Regions from separate parts of the Homo sapiens genome. Here region 1 is linked to region 2. The links are contacts of gene promoters, found by promoter capture Hi-C in blood cells and fetal thymus (Javierre and others, 2016). All regions are on one chromosome and are shown on one strand. The core of a region is centred on a gene start or on the middle of the fragment in contact, and the rest is flanking DNA. Distances in the headings are between cores, read along the strand shown.

What was found. The method cuts DNA at HindIII sites, captures the fragments that hold promoters and counts their contacts. A CHiCAGO score of 5 or more calls a contact.
Region 1: a contact is called between the fragment with the promoter of CNPPD1 here and the fragment with the promoter of PECR in region 2, in 1 of 17 cell types (neutrophils). The highest score is 6.3, in neutrophils.

Annotation. Positions count from the first base shown.
Region 1 is chr2:219,175,533-219,180,813 of GRCh38, forward strand. It overlaps CNPPD1 (cyclin Pas1/PHO80 domain containing 1), which reads right to left and starts at 1,393. Exons shown (of 8, transcript NM_015680.6): 1 at 1,228-1,393; 2 at 691-799; 3 at 59-140. The coding sequence starts at 1,296. It overlaps RETREG2 (reticulophagy regulator family member 2), which reads left to right and starts at 2,743. Exons shown (of 9, transcript NM_024293.6): 1 at 2,743-3,101; 2 at 3,390-3,496; 3 at 4,201-4,231; 4 at 4,578-4,713; 5 at 5,138-5,222. The coding sequence starts at 2,821. RefSeq lists silencers at 1,015-1,309, 1,148-1,207, 1,328-1,537, 1,608-1,657, 2,648-2,727 and 2 more and an enhancer at 2,438-2,938. The HindIII fragment of the contact is 4,554 bases long and covers 343-4,896 here.
Region 2 is chr2:216,078,376-216,083,882 of GRCh38, forward strand. It overlaps PECR (peroxisomal trans-2-enoyl-CoA reductase), which reads right to left and starts at 3,434. Exons shown (of 8, transcript NM_018441.6): 1 at 3,243-3,434. The coding sequence starts at 3,366. TMEM169 (transmembrane protein 169) reads left to right here and starts at 3,544. Exons shown (of 3, transcript NM_001142311.2): 1 at 3,544-3,604. RefSeq lists enhancers at 3,036-3,115, 3,146-3,195 and a silencer at 3,386-3,645. The HindIII fragment of the contact is 11,582 bases long and covers 1-5,507 here.

The sequences.
Region 1 (5,281 bases), core at 143-2,642, 3.1 Mb after region 2:
CGATTCCCCTTTCTCTAGGGCCCAAACACTCTCATCCTATCCTCATTTCCAGGCTCACCGGGACACATGAGCTACATATTTCTTCTGGAGTCGGCGAATAGGGCTGGGGGCTGCCTTCTGGAGCAGTTCGACAGCAATGTCTGCAAGGGACAGAAGGAAGGCCGAGTGAGCAAACAAGCACCCACACCCAACACACCAGTCCCCACTGCTAGCAGAAGACCCAGATCTGTATTTTCTGAGGCCTTGGGGACAGGACCATAGTAACAAAATAGAGATCAAATTCTCACACACTGAGACAAAAAGCCCATTCCAAGTTCGAATTTCAGCTCATTCTAACAGGAAAGCTTATTGCCCTGTCACATCAAACTATCCAGATTTATCTGTCACTGCTGTTCATCTGTGGCATAAACATGCCTTGTTTACTTGGGGAACATATGATGGATATCCTTCGAAAATTAGCTTTTCAATATATAAATCAAGAGTGATTTGTATAGATATATGTGGCAGCAATGTTTTTTATTCATTTGGGCTAAAAGAATGGGAAATGCAAACTGCCCTCTTGAACCAAGTACCAACGAGCTAGCAATGAAGAGACAGTGTAGCCACGGGGCAAACCTCGAGCCATTTTCTGCCTGATGACAATCCCATTTTCATGCTTCTCACTTGTCCAGTCACACAACACTGCCTAACCTGCCACCGGGCTGGAGAGCTCCTCCAGGCTACAGTCGGCTTCCCAGTCCCAGCCATAGTAGAGCCTCCTTCGGATCCGGGCACTCAGCTTCTGGTGTCCTGGGAGGAACTGAAACAGGGCAGGGGCAGCGGAGGGTGAAGGGCACGGAAAGGTATGATGCAGATCCTGGCTCTGGGCTGGAAGGCGGGGCAGGGGACAGGCCGGCCTCGCTGCTAGGGGGCCCGTGCCTTACCCAGACCCGCGTTCTGTAAATCGCTTGCCAATGGCAGCCTGGTCCATAGAGGGAGGAATGCCCCCACCCCCATCGAGGGTTCCCCGGGAGAAGTTCTCCGAGAAGGGCCCTCGTGTGGCCACCCCTACGCCCATTCCTATACTCCGCGGCTCTCCCTCCCGGCCCAAGCAGCCGCGGCCTCAAGGAAGCACTGCTCGAGCAGCTGCCGCCCAGTCCCGGCACAGCAGTCAGGCGAGCTCGCAGCGCCGCTCAGGCCGGGAGGGGCGCGCCGGGAGGCCGGGGAGGGGGCGGGACCCCCACTCACCGTGAAGTCCTGGAAGCCGGCGAGGGAGAAGGTGCCTTCTTCGTCCAGCAGGAGCCCGGTCAGGTCCATCGCGCCGCCAGTCGCCGCCCTGCGAAGGTGAACGGAAGGAAACGAGTTGTAGGGGGCTCGCGGAGCTGTCCTTGCCCGCCTGTCCACCTGCCAGCCTGCCTCCCCGGGGCGGGCCGCCGTCCTCGCCCTCGCCCTCGCAGCTCCCTCCCCCCGGCGGCGGAAGGCGGGGCCCGGGCTGAACTGGGCGCCTCTTCCTGTTCCGCCCCGGGCTTGGCGCGGCGCGCGGGGGCCCTAGGCCCGGGAAGGGAGGTGTCAAGCGTCCGTGCGACGCTCACCTCGCGGAGCAGAAAGGAGATGCGGCTGCGAGGCGCGTACTCCGCCTGTGCCGCGTCCGCCCGGCGTTTACAAGCCGCGGGGGTGCCGCCTGCAAGTCAGCGCCTGGCACTTCCTGCCGCCCATCTGGCCCAGCCTCCCGCCCCGACCCGCGGGCAGGAACCGGACTCGAACTCCTGGTCTCACGGAACGTGGCCAAGCCCCAGGCGCCTCTGAGAAATGGGGACAATTCGTAGGGGGGACCACGCCGCACTGAGGATGAACAAGCCAGGCGTAGCAATGGAGAAGTTAATGTGAATAAGACGAAACGCACAACAGGAAGTTGTTCCCAGTTGCTTTTTAGGAGAGATATTATACATACTCAGCAATGCATATGAAAAGCGTCTGAAAGGACACACAGGAAATTTAGCAGTGGGTGAACTATGAAAAGGAAGAGAAACTCAGGGTGTTTTTTTTTTTTACTGTAATTTGAACTTTTAAACCTAAGGCTACTGAGGAAATTCTGTGATCTTAAGCGAATGTAAGGCCTCAAAACGTGTCAACACGTCCACCCAAAAGTAAACTGCATCTACCCAAGGTTTTGTGTTGAAACCCACCTCCCGCCTCCGATCTCATGCTTGAGTAGGCCGAGGTGGGAAGAAGCTCCGATATGTGGAAGTGGGAAAGTTTAAGGAGATAGGAAAGAAACAACTTTTCTGAGTAGATGTTGTTTTCGAGTCTGTCGAGTCAAGCGCTGGTGTGTGTTTGTTTACCCACTGAGGGGAGGGAACTGGGAGGACCAGTGCGTTGAGGGTTGGTTGAGTAATGGGACGGCCACCGCCCTTCCCGAGCGAGCAGAAGCAGACCCTACCGGGGATACTGGGAATCTGGAAGCCCACTTCCTGCCCCACACGGGGATACCGGGGCAGCACCACACTCCCTAGCCGCCCTGCCTACTGTGGGATAAGAAAACGGGCTCGACTGCCTGGACCTAGACCCGGACTCGGAACCCGGGGTACTTCGTCAACCAGAAAACGAACCTGTGTAGGCGCAGTGTCAGCGGCAGCCGCCGGGGCGCATGCGCGGCCCGCCCTATCCGGGGGGGGGGGGGTTAGGCCGCGTCACGTGACGGGCTCAGCGCTCCGCAGTCACGTGACGCTCGTCCGCAACCTCTGCTGTCCTCCGCGGCGCCCCCTTCCGCCTGACGCGCCCCCGGCGGCGGCCGCGCAGCCCTGGCTCCTCGCGGGCTCGGGCGGCGGCTGCGGCGGGGCTATGGCGAGCGGCGGTGGCGGGGGTAACACTGGCGCGGGTGGGGGGCCGGGGATGGGCCTGAGCCTGGGCCTGGGTCTGGGTCTGAGCCTAGGCATGAGTGAGGCCACCAGTGAGGCAGAGGAGGAGGCGGCCACGGCCGAGGCGGTGGGACGCCTGGCCACGACGCTGTGGCTGCGGCTCCGCGGCTGGGAGGCGGTGCTGGCGGCGGCGCAGCGGTTGCTGGTGTGGGAGAAGCCGCTGCACAGCCTGGTCACGGCGGCCGCGCTCAACGGCCTCTTCTGGTAACGGCCGCGGAGGAGGGGGCGGGGCCGGGATGAGCGGGGGAGGGAGGGGTCGAGAGCACCATTCCCCTTTCTGGGTTATCACTTGGCCTGGGGGCATGACCCATCCCCAGTTTTTGCAGGCTGACATCCGCTTGAATTGCCCATTTTTTTCTATCTCTGAGTCGTGAGTCGCGAGTTAGGCCTGGAGGTGCCATTACCCCATCAGTAGGCGCCTTTCCACCTTCTGAGATGGATGCATGAGCCTGTCTCACCCACTCACTGCTGAGGTGCCTGTCTCTCCCTAAGGTTGCTGTCTTCCTCGTCCCTCCGGCCCTTCTTCCTACTCAGCGTCTCACTTTTGGCCTATTTTCTGCTGGATCTCTGGCAGCCTCGCTTTCTCCCTGACGTTTCAGGTGAGTGTTTCTTCATTCAGTAAGCACCCATTGGGTACTTGCTTGGTGCCTGATTCCGCTGGGTGGGGTTAAGTGGCGAGGGGAACGTACAGCAGGCCACCTGCCTCCCAGGCATGGCCCACTTCCTTTTTGTACGGAATTCCCTAAAATGAGAATTGCCCCTTTCCCAAACTAATACTACTGTAGGTGCAGTGGTTAAGATGGTGAAGTCTGCAGCCATATTACCTGGGTTCCATTCTCTGTTCTGCCATTTACCATTGCTGTGACCTTGTAAAAGTAGCTCAATTTCTGTTTGTCTCAATTTCCTTATCTGTAAAACACAGATGATAGAACTTACTTCATAGAGAGGTGAGGAGAGGATTAATGAGTTAATACACATGCTATACTTATGATAGTGTTTCACATATAAGCCTTATAAATAGAACGTCAGTGTTGTTTTTCTTGTTATCCATATAATTTACTTAGTAGGTGACAGGCTGTATGTGAGTTGCTTGGGAGATAAGCATGAGTAAAATCTAGTTCTTATGTTGGAGAAGGGTAATGTCTAAAGGAGACAGACGCAAACAAAAACATGTAACAGCTCCCCCATTGGCATCTGAAGAAGGTGCTCTGGGGCTGCAGAGGAGGGACAACTATTTCTGCCTTGGGGAGTGTCTCCCAGGGCCCCTACCACTCAATAATTTGCCCCCCTCCTCTCTCTCTAGCATCATCCCCAGAGGAGCCACACTCTGACAGGTGAGTACAGGCCACCTCTTGAAGACAAATGCCCACATCCTGTCCTGCTTGCTGGTGCCAGTGTCACCATGGAGCAGGGCAGTGCCCCAGCATTGTGAATGAACTGGTAACAAGCCATGGGTTTTTCATGGTCCTAGGCTCCTGTGTAGGTGTTTGCGTGCCTGCTCCTTTTGGGGCAGAGGGTTGGGTCCTCCTGGCTTTGCTTCTAAGACCAGGACAGCCTCCTTTTGAGAGGTGGGGTCATTTGCTTTTTTAGACTAAAGATATCTTTGGCATTCTCAGAGGGATTTAAGTGTCTAGGAAGCTGGTATCTGAGGCCTCCAGGGGTCATGTCATGTCTCCCCAGTGAGGGTGCGGGGTCAGGCGCCCGGCCGCACCTGCTGAGTGTGCCCGAGTTGTGCAGATACCTGGCTGAGAGCTGGCTCACCTTCCAGATTCACCTGCAGGAGCTGCTGCAGTACAAGAGGCAGAATCCAGCTCAGGTAACCTCCCCTACATCATACAACAGTTCACTACACTGAAGGGGAATAGAGGTGGCGGGGGATGGGAGTGGAGTGATATAAACTCCCCGCTTGGAGACCCTGAAAGAAGAGGCCTGGGCGCCTTCTTGAGGCAACATTCACAGCTAATCCCTGGTGCAGGAGGCAGTCTCACCTCAGGAAATAAGCTTTTGATAGCCTGACACTTTCTCCTGCCAAGGCAGACCAGTGTGAATTACAGGTGGTGGGCATTATGTATTGCCAGCTTCCTGAATTGGTGGTCTTGAGCATCCTCTTAACCAAACTGGACCACCCCATTCCTTGAGTACATACCCATCCTTCTACCAGCTGAGCAGTAGTTTCTTACCCAGCCGAGCGGGGCGCATATCTCAGCGTGATGTTCTTAGACTTTTGCTCTTCTCTGCAGTTCTGCGTTCGAGTCTGCTCTGGCTGTGCTGTGTTGGCTGTGTTGGGACACTATGTTCCAGGGATTATGATTTCCTACATTGTCTGTGAGTAGGGTCTGTCCCTGCCCTATTTAAAGCCCTCTCCTTTCTTCTTTCCTTGGACT
Region 2 (5,507 bases), core at 2,184-4,683:
GGCTCACAGCACTTTGGGAGGTCAAGGGGGATGGATCATAAGGTCAGGAGTTCAAGACCAGCCTGGCCAACGTGGTAAAACCCCGTCTCTATTAAAAATACTGCTCAGGAGGCTGAGGCAGAGAATTGCTTGAACCTGGGAGGTGGAGGTTGCAGTGAGCCGAGATTGCGCCACTGTACTCCAGCCTGGGCGACAGAGCGAAACTCCATCTCAAAAAAAAAAAAAAAGAAAAAGATTTTTAATATTCTTTCACTGAAGGAAATCCATTTCCAATACAACAAAATAATTGTGTATATATATTTTTAAGTATATGATGTCTTTTTCTCAAAAGACACGCCACCACTTTCATCAGAATCTCAGACAGATTCATGTCTTCCAAAAGATTACAAGACCAATGTCCTAATGTTTTAGTTTGTGGTAAGAAAAATATAGTCTATCACCTTATTCCAGGGGTGTAGTTTTTGGCCAATGCATATTTATGCAACAGGATGAAAGTTCAAATAGCACACTTATGCAACAGGATGAAAGTTCAAATAGCACACTTATGCAACAGGATGAAAGTTCAAATACATAAAAATCTATTAAAAATCCTTCAAAGTGGACTAGGGTCCTACGAATCTGCTGAGAAGCCTAGTATCTGACCTATGCATGAATTGATAACTGATTCTGATTTTCTTACAGATATTCCTGAAAGAGGATAGAGCTTGGTGTTGAGAATAAACTGGGCAGTAATGGTGATGAGGTTACATCATGGCCTTACTAGGAAATGTTTTTGCTTTTTTTTTTTTTTTTAACTAAAAACATAGATTTTTTTTTTTTAGTTCATACTGTGCCAGATGTTGGAAACACAGTCGTAACCAAAGATAATTTAGATGTTCATTAAAAAATATTTAAAAGACGAAGACAATTTTAATTACTCATAATTAACATTATTTTCAGAAAAATGGCTAAAAATCTTATAAACTTCCTTCCAGTCCATTTTTGCATATGTAATACTTTTTTTTTTTTTTGATACTGAGTCTTGCTCTGTCGCCCAGGCTGGAGTGCAGCGGCACGATCTTGGCTCACTGAAACCTCTGCCTCCCGGGTTCACGCCATTCTCCTGCCTCAGCCTCCTGAGTAGCTGGGATTACAGGCACACGCCACCATGCCTGGCTAATTTTTGTATTCTTAGTAGAGACGAGGTTTCACCATGTTTTCCCAGGCTAGTCTCGAACTCTTGACCTTGTGCTCTGCCCGCCTCGGCCTCCCAAAGTGCTGGGATTACAGGCATGAGCCACCGTGCCCGGCCCTGCATGTATATATTTTATTAAAAGTAAAATTGGGCCGGGCACGGTGGCTTACGCCTGTAATCCCAGTACTTTGGGAGGCCGAGGCGGGCGGATCACCTGAGGTCGGGAGTTGGAGACCAGCCTGACCAACATATAGAAACCCCATCTCTACTAAAAATACAAAATTAGCCTAGCAAGGTAGTGCGTGCCTGTAATCCCAACTACTCGGGAGGCTGAGGCAGGAGAATCGCTTGAACCCAGGAGGCGGAGGTTGCAGTGAGCCAAGATGGCGCCACTGCACTCCAGCCTGGGCAACAAGAGCGAAACTCCATCTCAAAAAAAAAAAAAAAGTAAAATTGGAATGCTATTAGGTTTAGAATTCTACTTTTCCCAATAATATGGTATGCATTTCTCCAAGTAAGTCTTCAATAGCAAGATATTTATTTATTTATTGAGATGGAATCTCGCTCTGTTGCCCAGGCTGGAGTGCAGTGGCTTGACGTCAGCTCATTGCAACCTCTGCCTCCCAGGTTCAAGCGATTCTTGCGCCTCAACCTCCCAAGTAGCTGGGACTACAGGTGTACGCCACCATGCCTGGTTTGTATTTTTAGTAGAAATGGAGTTTCACCATGTTGGCCAGGCTGGTCTCAAACTCCTGACCTCAGGTTATCTGCCCGCCTCGGCCTCTCAAAGTGCTGGAATTACAGGCGTGAGCCACTGCGCCAGGACCAATAGCAAGATATTTAAACGGAAGCATTATATTTCATTGTTATTGATTTAACTATTTTCCTTATATTGGATTTTTAGGTAATTTCCATTTTTTCACTACTCAAGACTACATCCTTGCATGAAAATCTTTGCTTGACTCCGTTTCCTTAAATTCCTGAAAAAGGAATTACTGTCATAGAGCATAAACATTGTGAAGGTTTTTGGATCTTTTTTTCCAAATTGCCTTCCAGAAAGTTTGTAATAATTTACATTCCTGCCTTCTCATTCCTGCATCAACACTTTAATTTTTCCCAACATTTCAAAATTTTGTTAGAAAAGTTAAATCTTACTGTTTCATATTTTATTACCAATAAAGTTGATTATTTTTTCATATGTTTCTTGCCTGTCTGTAGTTCTTCTTTTGGAACGCTTAGTCCATACCATTAGTCTAATTTTTCTATCAGTGTGTTGGATTTTTTCTTTATTTGTAAGAGCTCTTTATGTATAAGGCTGTTGGCCGAATCTAGTGGCTCAGCCTGTAATCCCAAAACTTTAGGACTCAGAGGCAAGGCAGGAGGATCCCTTGAACCCAGGTGTTCGAGACCAGCGTAGGCAACAGAGTGAGACCCTATCTCAAAACCAACAAACAATTTATCTTATGTTGCAAATATTTTTCTTCATATGCCTTTAAACTTTATATATTTTTTTAATTCAATGAGGATTTACACTTTCATACAGGTAGATTGATTTATGTTCTCCTTTGTGGTTTATTCCCTCACTTATGTGTTTACAAAGGCCTTCCTTCACCCAAGTTAAGGTAAATATTCAGCATATTTCCTTGCTGTGGTTAAGAGATGTGAGAAGATACTATGAGAGACTCACTATGTTCACAACTTTTTCCAGTTAAATGAAGTCTTCCCACGTTTCCTAATCACTCACATTAAGCATATAGAATGGATTAATTTTAAATCTGAATATAAAACTAATTGCACAGCATGTTTCACTGCTCTTCTTACTGCCTACCTGGGGCACAGTCTCTTTGGCCTGAGTGGTCTCTTCAGTTTTTAACGAGTGGCTCCACAATTCCTTAGGAAGAGCTGCTCTCTTCTGTCTCCCTGGTGGTCGTAATTTCGCCCACACCTGCCCCGTCTTTGCTCTGCAGCTCCACACTCCCTCAGCCCCGCCGAGAGCTCCTGGCTCCCGTCTCCAGGTTACCCCAGGTCACCACAGCCACCTCTCTGCACCAGCGGCCCGCTCACGTACCCAGCTCCAGGAGCTCCTTCACGATGGCTTTTCCGATGCCCGTGGCCCCGCCGGTGACGATGGCCACTTGGCCCTGCAGCAAACCAGGCGCCAGGTAGCTCCTGCCCTTAGCCCAGGAGGCCATCCCTGCAGCGGGGTGCCAGAGCAGCTGAGCGCAGGCCCTTCTGGGTCTCAGGGACATTCGAGGCGGGCGGGCGGACAGGGCGGTGCTCGAGCCCACGTGACCACCAGAACCCCGCACCCTCCCCGGCCCGGCCCCGCCCCGCCCGCCGGCCGCGGCAAAGCCGCATCCTCCCGGAGCAGAACCGCTCCCCGCCGGCTGTCCGCAACCTCCGCCAGCGTCGGTCCCTGGGCAGGTGTGGGTGAGACTGCTCGTTCGTTTCTTTAAATTTCGATGCCATTGGGGAGGGTGGAAGGGAAATGCAAAAAAAAAAAAAGAAGAAGAAAGAAACAAGCAGGGTGTGCTCTATTTCAAAAATTCAATCCTCAGGGCTGAAGCTCTCACGATTAATTAAAATTAAATCTCCAGTGCAGCTGGAAAAAGAAAGGCTGCTGCTCGGCGCCCTCGCTGCGCCCGCCTGCCGGGGTCGGACGTCGGCGATGCTGTGGCTCCAGGTGCTGTGTGCCGCTGGCTGGGAAGGGGAGAAAGGGCAGGCTTAGCTGAGGGGGAGAAATGCGGCTTTCAGATCCTTTCATCCTTCGGGAGGGAGCCCGGGAAAGAGAGTGAAGGGGAAGAGGAGATGCGGTTGCAGTTTTCCACAGAACCAAGAGAATAAACGATTTGAAAAAATAAACTCAGGCCCACCTCCGTCTCACCTCCCACTCCCCACCCAAGAATCAAGGGGAAAGATCATCTTTACCAGGTTTGAGACCTGATCCATTTCAGCTGAGCTGCATAGCGAGTCCAGAAGAGGATCTTTCCTTGAAGGGTGCACGCTTCCTGCAAGATGCATCTGTAGGTGTTTGAGATCATGTCCTGTAGTTCATTCCTTGTGCAGGAGGGTGAGCCCGCTGAGGATGGGGAAAATTTCTCGTCTGTGTTATGGTGCCCAGTAACAGTGATTTATTATTCAGATCTGCTCCTTATTTTTCATCTTGCTTCCCGCTCTGAACCCACCAGAGTGAGATTACACCTGGACTGGCCTACTGAGACTTCACCCTAAGAACTTGGTCGAATGTGCCAGTTGCTGTGGTCTTAACAATCCAGATGGGATGCTATTTCTAAGGCTGTTGTCAGAGTGTTGCATTTTCCCCGGACAGGTATTAAAATAATATAAAGGCAAATAAATGCCATCATCCTTTTGTTGGACCTACCACCTAGGATTCACAAAGCCAATTGGAAATGGGTCTGGTTGACAGAGGAATCAGACCATCACTTCCTCCACCAGGTCCCACCCACCAGCGAGGCTGCAGTTCTTGTTGGACAGCTACACTTCCCTGTTGCTCCATCCTCTTGTCCTTCTCTGATCTCTTTTTAGAATCACTTCTCCCTCTATCTTTGTTGCTGACAGATTCAAATCTACACTCGTTAAAGAAAGGAATAAATCTCCTGGTTACCATTTGCTAGATAGTTTATCCAGGAATCACTTAACTCTACTACTTAAGTCAATTCTGTAGTTAGGACCAAATTTTTAAAATTACAACGCCATCACCTCCTTTAAAACAAAGTAAATTCAAACAGGAAAGCTCAAAGTGTTGTTGCAGAAACATATAACTCCTCTTGGTTTGATCCCAATGACAAGGTGTTTTTTTTTAAGGAAAAGAAATATTGATTCAGTTCTGAGGGGTATCTTATTCAAGAGAAGTCCAGACTTTCTTTCTTGTGGGTGGGGACACTTTAAATTCTTTTAAATGATAACTTTATTGAAGATATAACTTAACATGATTTATGCCCTGGTCTGGACCTATAGATTCTTAGAGGTGTGCCAGGGTGGGTCAGTGGGAAGCTGGCTGTGCTGCAGCTTCCGTGTGGCTGCTGAGCGGACTGAGAGTGGGATTCTGATGTCTTCCAGTGAAACAGGGACTGGGGCCTGCAAACCGGTTATGCCTACTGAGGATGACAAGGTGCCATTCCTCAGCTGCAAGGAAGTTGCAGGATGAACAGTCAGAAGGCGATTTTTCATGATCCAGGCAGAACCTGCAATTAAGAGAGCTTTGGGGTCTCTTCAAGCGATCTTTTGTTTAAAATTAGGAGGCATGATCTCTTTGCCTCTGCCTCTGACCTCTGTCAGGGTTTGAAAGTCCACTAATCCGCTAAGTTCCAGG